Linked DNA regions of Homo sapiens: region 2 is linked to region 1. The links are contacts of gene promoters, found by promoter capture Hi-C in blood cells and fetal thymus (Javierre and others, 2016). All regions are on one chromosome and are shown on one strand. Each heading gives the region's core, a stretch centred on a gene start or on the middle of the fragment in contact. The rest is flanking DNA. Distances are from core to core; before and after follow the strand shown.

Region 1 (6,094 bases), core at 1,027-3,526:
TCCAGGCCAGAATGGTTTAGGTACCCTCGTTGTACCCTTTCATGACCCTCAAACTTTCCTTACCGGGCTCTCATCACAACTGTCATCTACAGCTAATTGTATGGTATATTAGTCTGCTACGGTTACTATAAGAAAACACTACACACTGGGTGCCCTATACAGACTGGTTGTGATTTTCTCACAGTGCTGGAGGCTAGAGGTCTAAGATCAAGGTGTTGGCAGGTTTGGTTTCTCCTGAGAGATTTTTTAAATTTTTTTTATTTTTTTGGCTTTCAGATAGTCTTTCCTTTATGCAAACACAACCTTGGTGTCTGTGTCCAAATTTCCTCTTCTTATGACGACATCAGTCAGACTGGATTAGGGCTCACCCTAAGGGTCTTGTTTTAATCACCTCTTTAAAAAGGACTGTCTCCAAATACATTCACATTCTGAGGCACTGGGAGTTGGAACTTCAACATATGAATTTTGGGGGATGCAATGTGGCTTATGATTAACCTCTACTGTTTCCACTTGTAAAACTTTTAACACGGACTTTGTCTTGTTCATATCTGAGGACCTTTACAGTTGATGCTGTCTTCTGAGCACACTCTACCTCCAACTCTTCATAAAACACGTTTTTCTCAACTTTCAAGCCTTAGCACCATCATCTGACAAGGGCCGTTCCAAACCACCTGGTCTAAAGTAACCCTAAGCGTTACTCTGTCACATCACTGTTTTCTCTCTTTCATAGCAGTCGCCACTTACTTACGTCCAGAATATCAGCTTCAGGAAAGGTGGGGATATGTGTTTTTACACGCTATTATACCCCCGGCATCTCACACACAGTCACAAGTGAATGAGATTCTGTAGCCACTTGGTACATTACAATGATTTTATTTACCCCTGGGAAAACCTAAAGGGCTTTTAACATCCAAATCGGTGTTTGAATTTCAGCTCTAACATGGATTAGCTGTGTGAACACCAAGTGCGTTACCCACTCTGTGTCTCAGAATCCTTAACAACACGATGACAATACCTTCTTTCCGGTTCTTATGGGGATTAAGTGAACTAATTAGCCCTAAGGTGACCAGGTCAACAATCTGACGTAGAACTCATGGTATCAGCCGAGATGCTATTAGCTTGAGGGTGTTCCAAAGCGTCGGACCTGGGAATGGTTTTCGAAAACGTGTTTAGGTGGTACCCAGAGCATTAAACACCAGGGTAGGAACGCTACCCTATTTTCAGTGGTTTTTTAAATTCTTTTTTGTTTTGTTGTTTTGTTTTTGAGACAAAGCCTCACTCTGTAGCCCAGACTGGAGTCCAGTGGCGGGATGTCAGCTCACTGCAGCCTCGACGTCCCGGGTTCCAGTGATTCTCCAGCCTCAGCCTCCCAAGTAGTGGAGACCACAGATCCGTGCCACCACACCCAGCTATTTTTGTTGTATCTTTTGTACATTTTTTGTATATTTTGTATATATTTTTTGTATGTATATTTTGTATATTTTTTGTGTATATATATATATATATATATATATATTTTTTTTTTTTTTTTTTTTTTTTTTTTTTTTGTAGAGGTGGGGTCTCCCTATGTTGCCCCTCGCTATGGTCTTTTCAATTCTTTGGATCAAAACCAGGCTTTGTTCTCATTCATGTGTCTTTGGCACCCATCCCTGCCTCCATCCCTTGCCATTTCTTGAGATTCTTCTGTTTAGCAGAGATCACTCGGCCAGACACGCATCGGCAGCAGCCTGGGAATGAAGCCAGCCTGCCTGGGGCGGCCCCCGCCGCGCTCCCCCGGGACTCCGGGCTGCTGTGAGGAAAGCAGCAACTCGTGGGGTCCTGGTGAAGAGAAAACGACCTGGACCCTGCAAAGCGACCCAGAACAAAGGGAGCCCGCCACCCACGTTATGAAGACAAAACACGTGGGTAACACGGCCCAGGCGGGTGGCAGGCGTGGCGGAAACCTCTCTGAGGCTGGCGAGGACTACTGAGTGTGGAGGGGGTCCCTGAGGAAGGGAGTCCCCGAGGGAGGATGGGCCTCCGAGGGGGCCAGGCCGACGTCCCGGGAAGGCGACCCGCGGCTCGGGGAAGCCAAGTTCTGGGTCGTCCTCTGACTTCGGCTTTTTTGCGGTCTGCCGCGCTCATCCCCGCGCCCGCCACCCCGCGAGCTTACCCGAGCCTCTCAGTCAGCAGAGCGCCCGCTGAGTGGCCGCGCCCGCGCGCAAGACACAGGGGAGGGGCGGGGCGGGGCGGCGCGCACTACGCGAGGGACGCAGCTGCGCACGCGGCTCCGCGCATGTGCGGTGAGGCTCGCGGCCGGAGTGCGGCGCTGGGCGGAAGCTACCATGGCGGCCGAGCGAAAGACAAGGTTGTCCAAGAATCTACTGCGCATGAAGGTGCGGGGACGCTGAGAGCGCCACTCCGGGCGGTAGGGGCACCCGGTCCTTCCAACCTGGCCGGGGCCGAGGCGGCGGGCGGACAAGGGACACCAGAGAGGCCTCAGAGGGCTTCCAGCTCTCGTGCTCATTCATTCACTTAGCGCCTGCTCTGCACTGTTTACTGGGAACCAGCTTACGAATTAGGCCGACTCTCTCAGGAGGCCCGCGGGCGGATGGGAGCTTGAGTACACAGAAGCAGTCAGGGTACAGCTTACCCAGTGCAGTGAGGGTAGAAGCGCTGGGGACCTTGGGGACTCACCGAGCTTCTCGAGAAGTTGTTGCTTACTTATATATGCAATAAATATGATATATGGGAAGTGTAACTCCTTAGCTGGGTAATTTAGGTAAATTCACTTCTTTCTCTGAATATCTCTTTTCCTCATCTTTAAAAAGAAGAGCATTAGGCTACATGAGTTCAAGCTCCTTTTTAATTTTGATAATACTTCTTTTAGTAGAGTTCTTCAGAGAAACAGAATCAACAAGATGTATATGTGTATATATGTGTATGGAGAGAGGGGGTATTTTTAAAACTGGATCACACGACTGTGGAGATGCAAGTCTAAAATCTGCAGGGTGGGCCAGTAGGCTGGAGACCCAGAGAAGTACTCAGTCCAAGTCCAAAGACAGTCTGCTGGCAGAACTCCCTCTTCTTCCAGGGAGAAGAGGGTGAGTCTCGCAGGGTAGTCTCTAGGTTACTGGGAGGGTGGAAGGCACAGCGTCCTAAACTAGGAGAAACTGAGTTCAGAAGTCTGAGAGGCAAGAAAGAAAAAGAAAACCATGGAAATTTCCAAGAATTAGAGACAATTCAGTATGTCTGGAAGGCAAGTACTAAGAAATGGGGTTGCAGAGTAGGCAATGGTCACAACGTGCAGGGAATTTGAGGCCAGATTAAAGATATTTTCCTTTATTTTGTGAGCAATGGAAAGCTATTGAAACGGGGAACAGTATCAAGAAAATGGCAAATATTTATAGTACTAGACAATGATTGAAGTGGTTTGCGTATATTAACCTATGCAATTCACATAATGACACTTTGAGGTGACTACAGGCAGTAACTCTCTTCTTACAGCTAAGGCAACTGAAACAGAAATAAGTAATTTACCCAAAGTTACACAGCTAATAAGTAGTGTAGACAGGACGGGAATTCAGGCAGTCTGGCTCCAGAACCCTGGCTCTTTATTACTACTCTGTACTCTGTGATGCCTGTCACTAAGCACTACTTCTAGAGAGTAGCAAACTGTTACATGTCATGTTTAAAGAGGTGGAATTTCCAAAAGAGGGAAGGAAGCATTCATAATGTTTTGAAAGATAGGCCATTCGCAGTGGCTCATGCCTGTAGTCCCAGCACTTTGAGAGGCTGAGGTAGACAAATCGCTTAAGCCCAGGTGTTTGAGACCATCCTGGGCAACATGGTGAAACCCCATCTCTACAAAAAATACAAAATATTAGCCAGGCCTAGTGGCACGCACCTTTAGTCCCAGCTACTTGGGAGGCTGAGGTGGGAGGATCACTTGAGCTTGGGAGATCAAGGCTGCAGTGAGCTGAGATGGCGCCACTGCACTCCAGCCTTGGTGACACAGGGAGACCCTGTCTCAAAAAAAAAAAAAAAAGAGAGAGAGTAAACATTATATGGGCAAGATTTGAATGGAGTTGAGCTAGGATGGAGTTAGGGATGAATGGGTGAATGAGGGTGGAGGACAAATTGCAGCATAACTTAGAGTTTGTCAAGCACTTTCATGCATATTAGCAAAATTTGAATCTTTACTGAACAGAGTTTGATTTTATGGTTGGTAATAACATTAACTTCAGAGAAGTGGAGTGAATTGGCCAAGCAGATATTGGAAAGATTTTAGCAGTTGTTTTAGCTCTTGGAATAAGCCAGATGATGTACTGGGTGACTCAGGCTCAAACTAAATATCCGAGTTGCAACTAAGAAGAAAGAAATTAACTTAAATGTCCACCCCCACCAAATGGGGAGACTCAACTGGACGTTGGAAGCAAAGGAGAAGGAAAAAGATCACCCACATTCTCTATTTGGTTTAGCAGCTTTGGTCATTGATAAGAAAAAACTTACTGGCAAGATAGCAGGAGACACTGTCTATACTGATAGAACAGAGTATACTGTGAGAAGGCATGGAGTAGCTGCACTTAGGGTGCCTTAACCAGAGCTAAGTCCTATATAGCATGGGTCCCCAACCGCCAGGCCATGGACCAGCACCAGTCCATGACCTGTAAGGAACAGGCTGCACAGCAGGAAGTGAGCAGCGGGCAGGCAAGCGAGCGAAACTTCATCTGTATTTACAGCTGTTCCCCATAGCTTGCATTACCACCTGAGCTCCGCCTCCTGTCAGATCAGTGGCAGAATCCTAGATTCTCCTAGGATCAGAAACCCTACTGTGAACTGTGCATATGAGGGATCTACCTTGCGCTCTACTTACGAGAATCTAATGCCTGATGATCTGTCATTGTCTCCCATCACACCCAGATGGGACTGTCTAGTTTCAGGAAAACAAGCTCAGGTCTTCCACTGATTCTTCATTGTGGTGAGTTGTATAATTATTTCATGACATATTATAATATAATAATAGAAACAAAGTGCACAATAAATGTAATGCACTTGAATCATCCCTAAACCATCTACCCTTCCCCTCTCCACCACCCGTGGAAAAATTGTCTTCCAGGAAGCCCATCCCTGGTGCCAAAAAGGTTGGGGACCACTTTTTAGGCAAGTATAAGAGGGTTGAGGATTTAATCCTGACTCACTTCAATGCCTCTGACTTGGTCAGCCATTGCAGGGTGATCCTAATGGGAAGAAGAAAAAGAAGGATGTGGATGGAAGGTCTTCCAGTATGGAATGGTTGTAGAGGGTGCTTATTTGTGATTTTGGCACTGTTAGACTCTCAGAACAGGGCTTGGCAAACTTTCTGTAAAGGACCATATGATAAATATTTTGGTCTTATGAGCCAGACAGTCTCTGTTACAACTACTCAGCTCTGCCAGTGTTGTTCAAGACCGAATGACCATGGTTGTGTACCAGTAAAACTTTATCGACGACAACAGACATCTAGCCTGAGGACTGTATTATGCTGATGCCTGCTCTGAGTCCTCACTAGTTTTGGAATGTGTTCTGAAATGCTCTAGAGTAGGAGAATCGAACTTGTACCTAAGTCTGGAGGTGCTTGATTCATATTCACAGGGAGTTCTGTCCTTTCTATGTGTACAGAACATATGTATATGGCTGTTGTATACCAAAAGAATAGGTACATGACTAAATGGGAGAAAAAAGGGCAGTTGGGCAGTATTGATGAGTTTTACCACGAGGAATATTAGTGATGAAATGAGGCATCTGCATTTAAAGAAAACCATCCCAGAAAGAGAATCTGGAAAAATAAGATAGGTCTAGGTTCATTTCCATTCAGAGAACTTTCACTGAGTGAGCTCTTTTGTGTACCAGGGGTGCCGCCTAAGTACCAATGATACAAGATGAACAAGAGTCATGGTCTATTCAGAATCGTAGTCCTGGGAGACACCAAAGCAGCACGATGGTGAACAATATTCCAGTGTTGATGAGGCTGTCTTGAGAATGTGCTTCTTTATAGGAGCAGACCTAGGAAGAGCCAAGCCAAATGCCAACCAGGAAGTCTTACCAAAGGACACACACTGTAGGCTTAAAAGAG
Region 2 (6,094 bases), core at 1,917-4,416, 1.1 Mb after region 1:
CAGTGCTGCCAAAAATACAGGCTTTGAATGGCCCTCCAAATTGACTGAATCCAGGGAATTTAATTTTCATGACCTCATATTCCTTTTGAATGGTTTTGGCATTAGTAGAGCAGATTAATAGAAGTTTTGAAGAAAGCTTTCTAGTAACTAAAACTTGAGAAACTGAATAGGTTACCCTGCAAGTGTTAAATTTTTTTTCTGCTATCACCTCCCAGGTAGTTTTGTCGTTAGCTTTAGGTTTTGTTTTGTTTTTTGTTTTGTTTGAGACGGAGTCTCGCTCTTTTGCCCAGGCCCTCCACCTCCCGGATTCAGGCAATTCTCCTGCCTCAGCCTCCAGGGTAGCTGGGAATACAGGCACCCGGACCACGACCATGCCCAGCTAATTTTTGTATTTTTAGTAAAGATGGGGTTTCGACATGTTGGCCAGGCTGGTCTCAAACTCCTGACCTCAGATGATCCACCCGCCTCGGCCTCCCAAAGTGCTGGGATTACAGGTGTGAGCCACCGCGCCTGGCCAGTTTTAGGTTTTAATAAACCACTAGGGAGCTCTGCATGGGCATACTACTATGAAAATGAGGCTGGCCATTCAGATCAGTTCCTCAGCAAATCAGAATTTCTGAATTTTTTCAATTTCTTTTCTTTTTCTTTTTTTTTTTTTTTTTTTTTTTTTGAGATGGAGTCTGGCTCTGTCGCCCAGGCTGGAGTGCAGTGGCGCGATCTCGGCTCACTGCAAGCTCCGCCTCCCGGGTTCACGCCATTCTCCTGCCTCAGCCTCCCGAGTAGCTGGGACTACAGGCGCCTGCCACCTCGCCCGGCTAATTTTTTGCATTTTTAGTAGAGACGGCCTTTCACTGAGTTAGCCAGGATGGTCTCGATCTCCTGACCTCGTGATCCATCCGCCTCGGCCTCCCAAAGTGCTGGGATTACAGGCGTGAGCCACCGCGCCCAGCTGCTGAATTTTTCCAATTTCTATAGTTTTTCTGGGGCTACTAAAAAGAGCACAGTTTAAAAAATTATGCTAACTACAAGCGTGTCTTTTTTACTGTGTTCTTTCAGACCAAATCACACCTTCCTTCCCATACTTAAAGAGGTGCCTTTCTTTACACCAGGATTAAATTCCTCTTTCTTCCCTGCAACAGGCCTTTCCTGCCGCCCAGGCTGGAGTGCAATGGTGCGATCTTGGCTCACTGCAACCTCCACCTCACGGGTTCAGGTGATTCTCCCACCTCAGCCTCCTGAGTAGCTGGGATTACAGGCGTCCATCACCACACCCGGCTAATTTTTGTATTAGGGTTTTGAAATGGGGTTTCGCCATGTTGGCTGGGCTGGTCTTGAACTTCTGACCTCAAGTGATTGACCCGCCTCAGCCTCCCAAAGTGCTGGGATTACAGGTGTGAGCCACCGCACCCACCCATCTCCCTTTAATTTTAAAAAATAGATATGGGGTCTTGTGACACTTCCCAAGCTGGTCTCAAGTGATTCTCCTGCCTTAGCCTCTCCTGTGAGTAACTGGTATTACAGACGCAAGCCACCACTCCTGGCTTTTTTTCTTTAAAATACATTTTATGTGTTAGAGGAAGTTTACAGTCACAGCAAAATTGAGGAGAAGGTACAGTTCTGTACGCTTCCATTCTCCGTTTTTGCAAAGTGGGATCTTACTATAAGTAGAGTTTCTGGTATCTTGACTCAATTCCTATGTTGACTTTTTATAAACATAACTAGCCAAACCCTTGTCCCTTCATGTTTCCACTCAATCATGCTATCGGGCTTTTACCTGCTAAATGCAGGAATAGTTAGTGTGAAGGAAGTCAGGTTCTAGATCCTCCAACTTCCCCATGTACTTGCCGTTAGGTTATTTAATTAATATTCATTTAGCAAATCTTAGTTAAGACTTTTGGTATACTTCCCAGAAACTTTTTTCTAATATGCAAGGTCTTGCACTGTTTCCCAGGCTGGAGTGCAGTGACACAATCATAGCTTACTGCAACCTTCAACTCCTGGGCTCAAGGGAGCCTCCTGCCTCAGCTGGGATTCCAGGTGTGAGCCACGGTGCCCAGCTGTTTTCAATAGATCTGAAGGAAGACCAAAACAAATTGTCAACTGATAAAACATTTAAATGTTTTTGGTTAATACTTACTAGCTTGAGATACAATAAAACCCCTTTTATTTGCATCTTCCTATTTATGTGAACAAGGTACCTAAGCTTACACGTATGAAAAAAGTTGGAATAGAATTATAGCTGAATCCGTCTCATTGGAGCAATCACAGTGCTAGAGAACTTAGATACCAAAATTTTTTTTGAGACTTGAGTTTTGCTCTCCAGGCTGGAGTGCAGTGGTGCCATCACAGCTCACTGCAACCTCCGCCACCCGGGTTCGAGCCAGTCTCCTGCCTCAGTTTCCCAAATAGCTGAGATTACAGGCGCCCGCCACCACACCCGGCGAATTTTTGTATTTTTAGTAGAGACACGGTTTCGCCATGTTGACCAGGCTAGTTTCGAACTCCTGATCTCAGGTGATACACCCACCTCGGCCTCCCAAGTGCTGGGATTACAGGCGTGAGCCACCGCGCCTGGCCTAGATACCGGTTTTCTACAGCAGAAATAGTCACACTTTCTAAAGCAGAAGGGCTTTGGAGTCAGACCCGAGCTGGAGTGGGGGATGCTTTGCGATCTCTCTTCAGCAAGCTGTTGTTTTAGGGACGTGGGGCCACCTTCCTTTATTTGTATAAAAGATGCCACTGCCCACTTAAGAGCTGTGCTGCTCCGGGCCAGCAGTTCAGCGAGTGCCCGTCGGCCTGGTGCTGTCGGTCACGTAAGTGGGCTCTTTGAGGCTCACAACGCGTCCTCCCTGGACGTTCTGGGCCTGTTAAGTTTGTGTCCGTGGGAAACGCTCACGGCGGTTCCCCAGAGGGCCGAGGGAGAAAAGTGAGGACGTTTCTGGCCGCCTGGCATCTGCTAAATATCCTAGCAGGCACAAGGGCTCCCCAACGGGACTCGCCGACCCGAGAGCCCGGGTGGGCCTCAAGCCCCGCCATCTGAGACCCTCCGTCGCTGGCCCTTCCGGCGGCAGCGCCCGGAGCGGATAGGAGATGCCACGAACCGCCTCGCCAGTGCTAGGCTTTGTTGGGCTACGTCACTTCCGCCGCGGTCCCGCCCCCAGCGTGGTCGTAACCCAAGGCAACGGCCCATCCGGCAGCGACCTGAGTAGCTCTTGCCAGTAGGCCGGGACTAGCTGTCTCGGGGCCTTCCATCCGCTTGGCCCCACAGGTAGGTGTGAGCGGCCATTTCTCCACCCCTGGGGCAAGGCCCGGGACCACTCCAAAGGCGACAGAGCGAGAGTCCCTGCCTCGTTCGAAAGGAAGCGAGAGGGAGCGAAAGGCAGAGGCACTATGTGCCGGGGCTTCCCCAGAGCGGGCGGGGTCTGGGGAGGGGCGGGGCCTGAGGAGGATCCGTTGGGAGCGGAACCCTTTAAGGGTGGGTAGACGGAGGACGGGGAGGAATTCGAACGGGCAATCCAGAACGCTTTTCTGAATGGGATAGTTTGAAAGAAGGGCAGGCGTCTTTGTGGCACGGTAGGAACTGGCGGAGGAAGGGGAAGAGCTAGATGAGGAAAAAAGGCTTATGGCATAAAGGGAGGAGCCTGATAGAGAAAGGGGTGTGGCCTGCAGGAAGGGGCGGGGCTAGATGAAGAGGTGGAGCCGAGCGTGATGCGCCTGGGCTTTAGGGGTGGCAGGTGGAGCGCGTGTGTTTGATGACTTGCGCTTTGCTGTGGACTGTAAGCTGTGTGAGAGTAGAGAAGACGGATGCTGCTTTAGCTTTTTATTCTCAGTGCTAGGTACTTAGTGAATTCATTAATGTGAGTTGAAAAAGGGGAAGAGTTTGAGACTGAGATTGGAATAGATGTGGTCTGATCGGGAGGGATGGTGTAGAAACTGCGCTCCTTGGCATCATTCTGTGAAATACTTGAGGTTCCTGTGACCTGTAGGCATATAATAAGCAGAAGGCACATATAATTAACAAGGAGGATAAAATTTATACTCTTGGAAATATGAACAAATTGTGCAAGTTGGGTGGCGCGGGTGCTTAACTTTCAGACAAAGGTTCAGCTCCTTCCAGTGTGTTTCTAAATGCGACTCCCAACTCATTTTCCTGTAGAAACTGTGTCACAAATGATCAGGATGCCCAGGTCAGTCTTCAGGACCTATTTAACTGGTTCATGTAAGTGAAGATTGGTCCTGTATTAAGAAACTTAACTTCTGCCATGGCTAACAATATTTCTAATGATTATTCCTTCATTCAGCATAGGTTGTTAAGGAGCCGACCCACAGGAACGTTCATTCAAATTCCAAATGAGGCTGCCAGAAACTCATCTTTCCCTGGTTGGAATTTAAGATTCCTTTAAACCTATAGCTTGTAGGAAGATGAGGGTGTGTGGCACAGTGGAGAGCCAATGAGAAGTTGAGGCAAGGTGATAAGGAGTTTTGAGAGATTACCATCTATCTGCTTTTGACATAAACAGCTTGCGTTTGACTTAATACCCTGGGCCTTGGTTTCTCCTGGTCCTTCAACATTCCCCTGCCCTTAATGGATTAGGAATCTGTCAACCAGGTATAGGAAGCTACGGTAAGATATTTGTAATCTGACTATATAGACAGACTGGCAAACATGTGGCACACTCTATTTTCTGGCAGACATAATTAATCAACCCCAGAAATTTTTCCTGCTATAGTCAGGTCATAAGATCCTTCTCAATACAACACTCTAGGTAGCCACTAGTTTGGAGTTGACAATTCAGAATTTTCTTTGTTTTGTTTTGAGACAGTCTCACCCTGTTACCCAGGTTGGAGTGTAGTGGTGCAATCTCGGCTTACTGCAACCTCTGCCTCTCGGGTTCAAGCGATTCTCCTGCCTCTGCCTTCCAAGTGGCTGGGACTACAGGCGTGAGCCACCATGCCTGGCTAATTTTTGTATTTTCGGTAAAGATGGGGTTTCATCATATTGGCCAGCCTGGTCTTGAACTCCTGACATCAAGTGATCCACCGGCCTCGGCCTCCCAAAGTGCTGGGATTATTGGTGTGAGCTACCGTGCTTGGCCAGAATGTATTCTTTATCCCTGATCTAGGCAATAGGTGTTAAAAAAAAAAGAGAGAGAGAGAGAGACATCAACTTCTATAACTCTTGGTAGGTTCCTCTAAAAAAAAAGACTATCTAAATGGATGGATCTGGATTCCTGTAGAAAAGATTTAGAAACATAGGCCAGGTCATTGTATAGGGAGTAAGATGAAGGTGAATTTGCAGCTAGTTGAATAATTAGCAAATGTCCAAGTGAAAGGGATACCCAGAGGGCATTATCCTTTACCCATCCTTCTCAACGTCTTTATCCGTGATGTAGATGGAGATACAGAAGGCATCCTCATCAAATTAATGGAGTCATCAAGCAAGAAGGAATGGTCAAACTGTGGGAAGTCAGAGTTAGGTTGCGAACTGTCTACGCAGGTTTAATAATGGTCCAAAAACAAAAGGGGAAATTTTACAAGGATCTGATGCATTTGGAGTCTACATCTAAGTAAAACAAAAAGAATAAAGAAAAAGAAAAGAAAATCAACAGCATGGTTACAGAGTAAAGAAGACAGGAATTTTTAGCCATTCATGTGAAAAAAAAAAAAATCTGGAAGTTGTAGTTCACCTCAAGCTCAGTGTTAATCAAGATTGAGTTATAGGGTTGGGTGTGGTGGCTCATGCCTGTAATCCCAACACTTTGGGAGGCTGAGGCGGGCGGATCACGAGGTCAAGAGATCGAGACCATCCTAGCCAACATGGTGAAACCCTGTCTCTACTAAAAATACAAAAATTAGCTGGGCGTGATGGCGCGCATCTGTAGTCCCAGCTACTCAGGAGGCTGAGGCAGGAGAATCTCATGAACCCAAGAGGCAGAGGTTGCAGGGAGCTGAGATCATACCACTGTACTCCAGCCTGGCAACAGAGCGAGACTCTGTCTAAAAAAAAAAGAAAGAAAAAAGATTGAGTTACACTTTTAAAAAAATATAGTAACTTTGTTTAATTAATAGATGTAGATTTCAGATCAAAAGGAGT

What was found. Contacts are between HindIII fragments. The CHiCAGO score rates a contact against its expected background, and 5 or more counts as called.
Region 2: a contact is called between the fragment with the promoter of C16orf46 here and the fragment with the promoter of MPHOSPH6 in region 1, in 2 of 17 cell types (monocytes and neutrophils). The highest score is 6.7, in monocytes.

Annotation. Positions count from the first base shown.
Region 1 is chr16:82,166,406-82,172,499 of GRCh38, reverse strand. MPHOSPH6 (M-phase phosphoprotein 6) reads left to right here and starts at 2,276. Exons shown (of 5, transcript NM_005792.2): 1 at 2,276-2,375. The coding sequence starts at 2,325. RefSeq lists a silencer at 2,141-2,300, a cis regulatory region at 2,347 and an enhancer at 2,275-2,419. The HindIII fragment of the contact is 21,548 bases long and covers 1-6,094 here.
Region 2 is chr16:81,074,310-81,080,403 of GRCh38, reverse strand. C16orf46 (chromosome 16 open reading frame 46) reads left to right here and starts at 3,166. Exons shown (of 4, transcript NM_152337.3): 1 at 3,166-3,268. C16orf46-AS1 (C16orf46 antisense RNA 1) reads right to left here. Exons shown (of 2, transcript XR_007065137.1): 2 at 3,806-3,980. RefSeq lists enhancers at 2,084-2,742, 2,855-2,904, 2,743-3,403, 3,495-3,634. The HindIII fragment of the contact is 28,578 bases long and covers 2,206-6,094 here.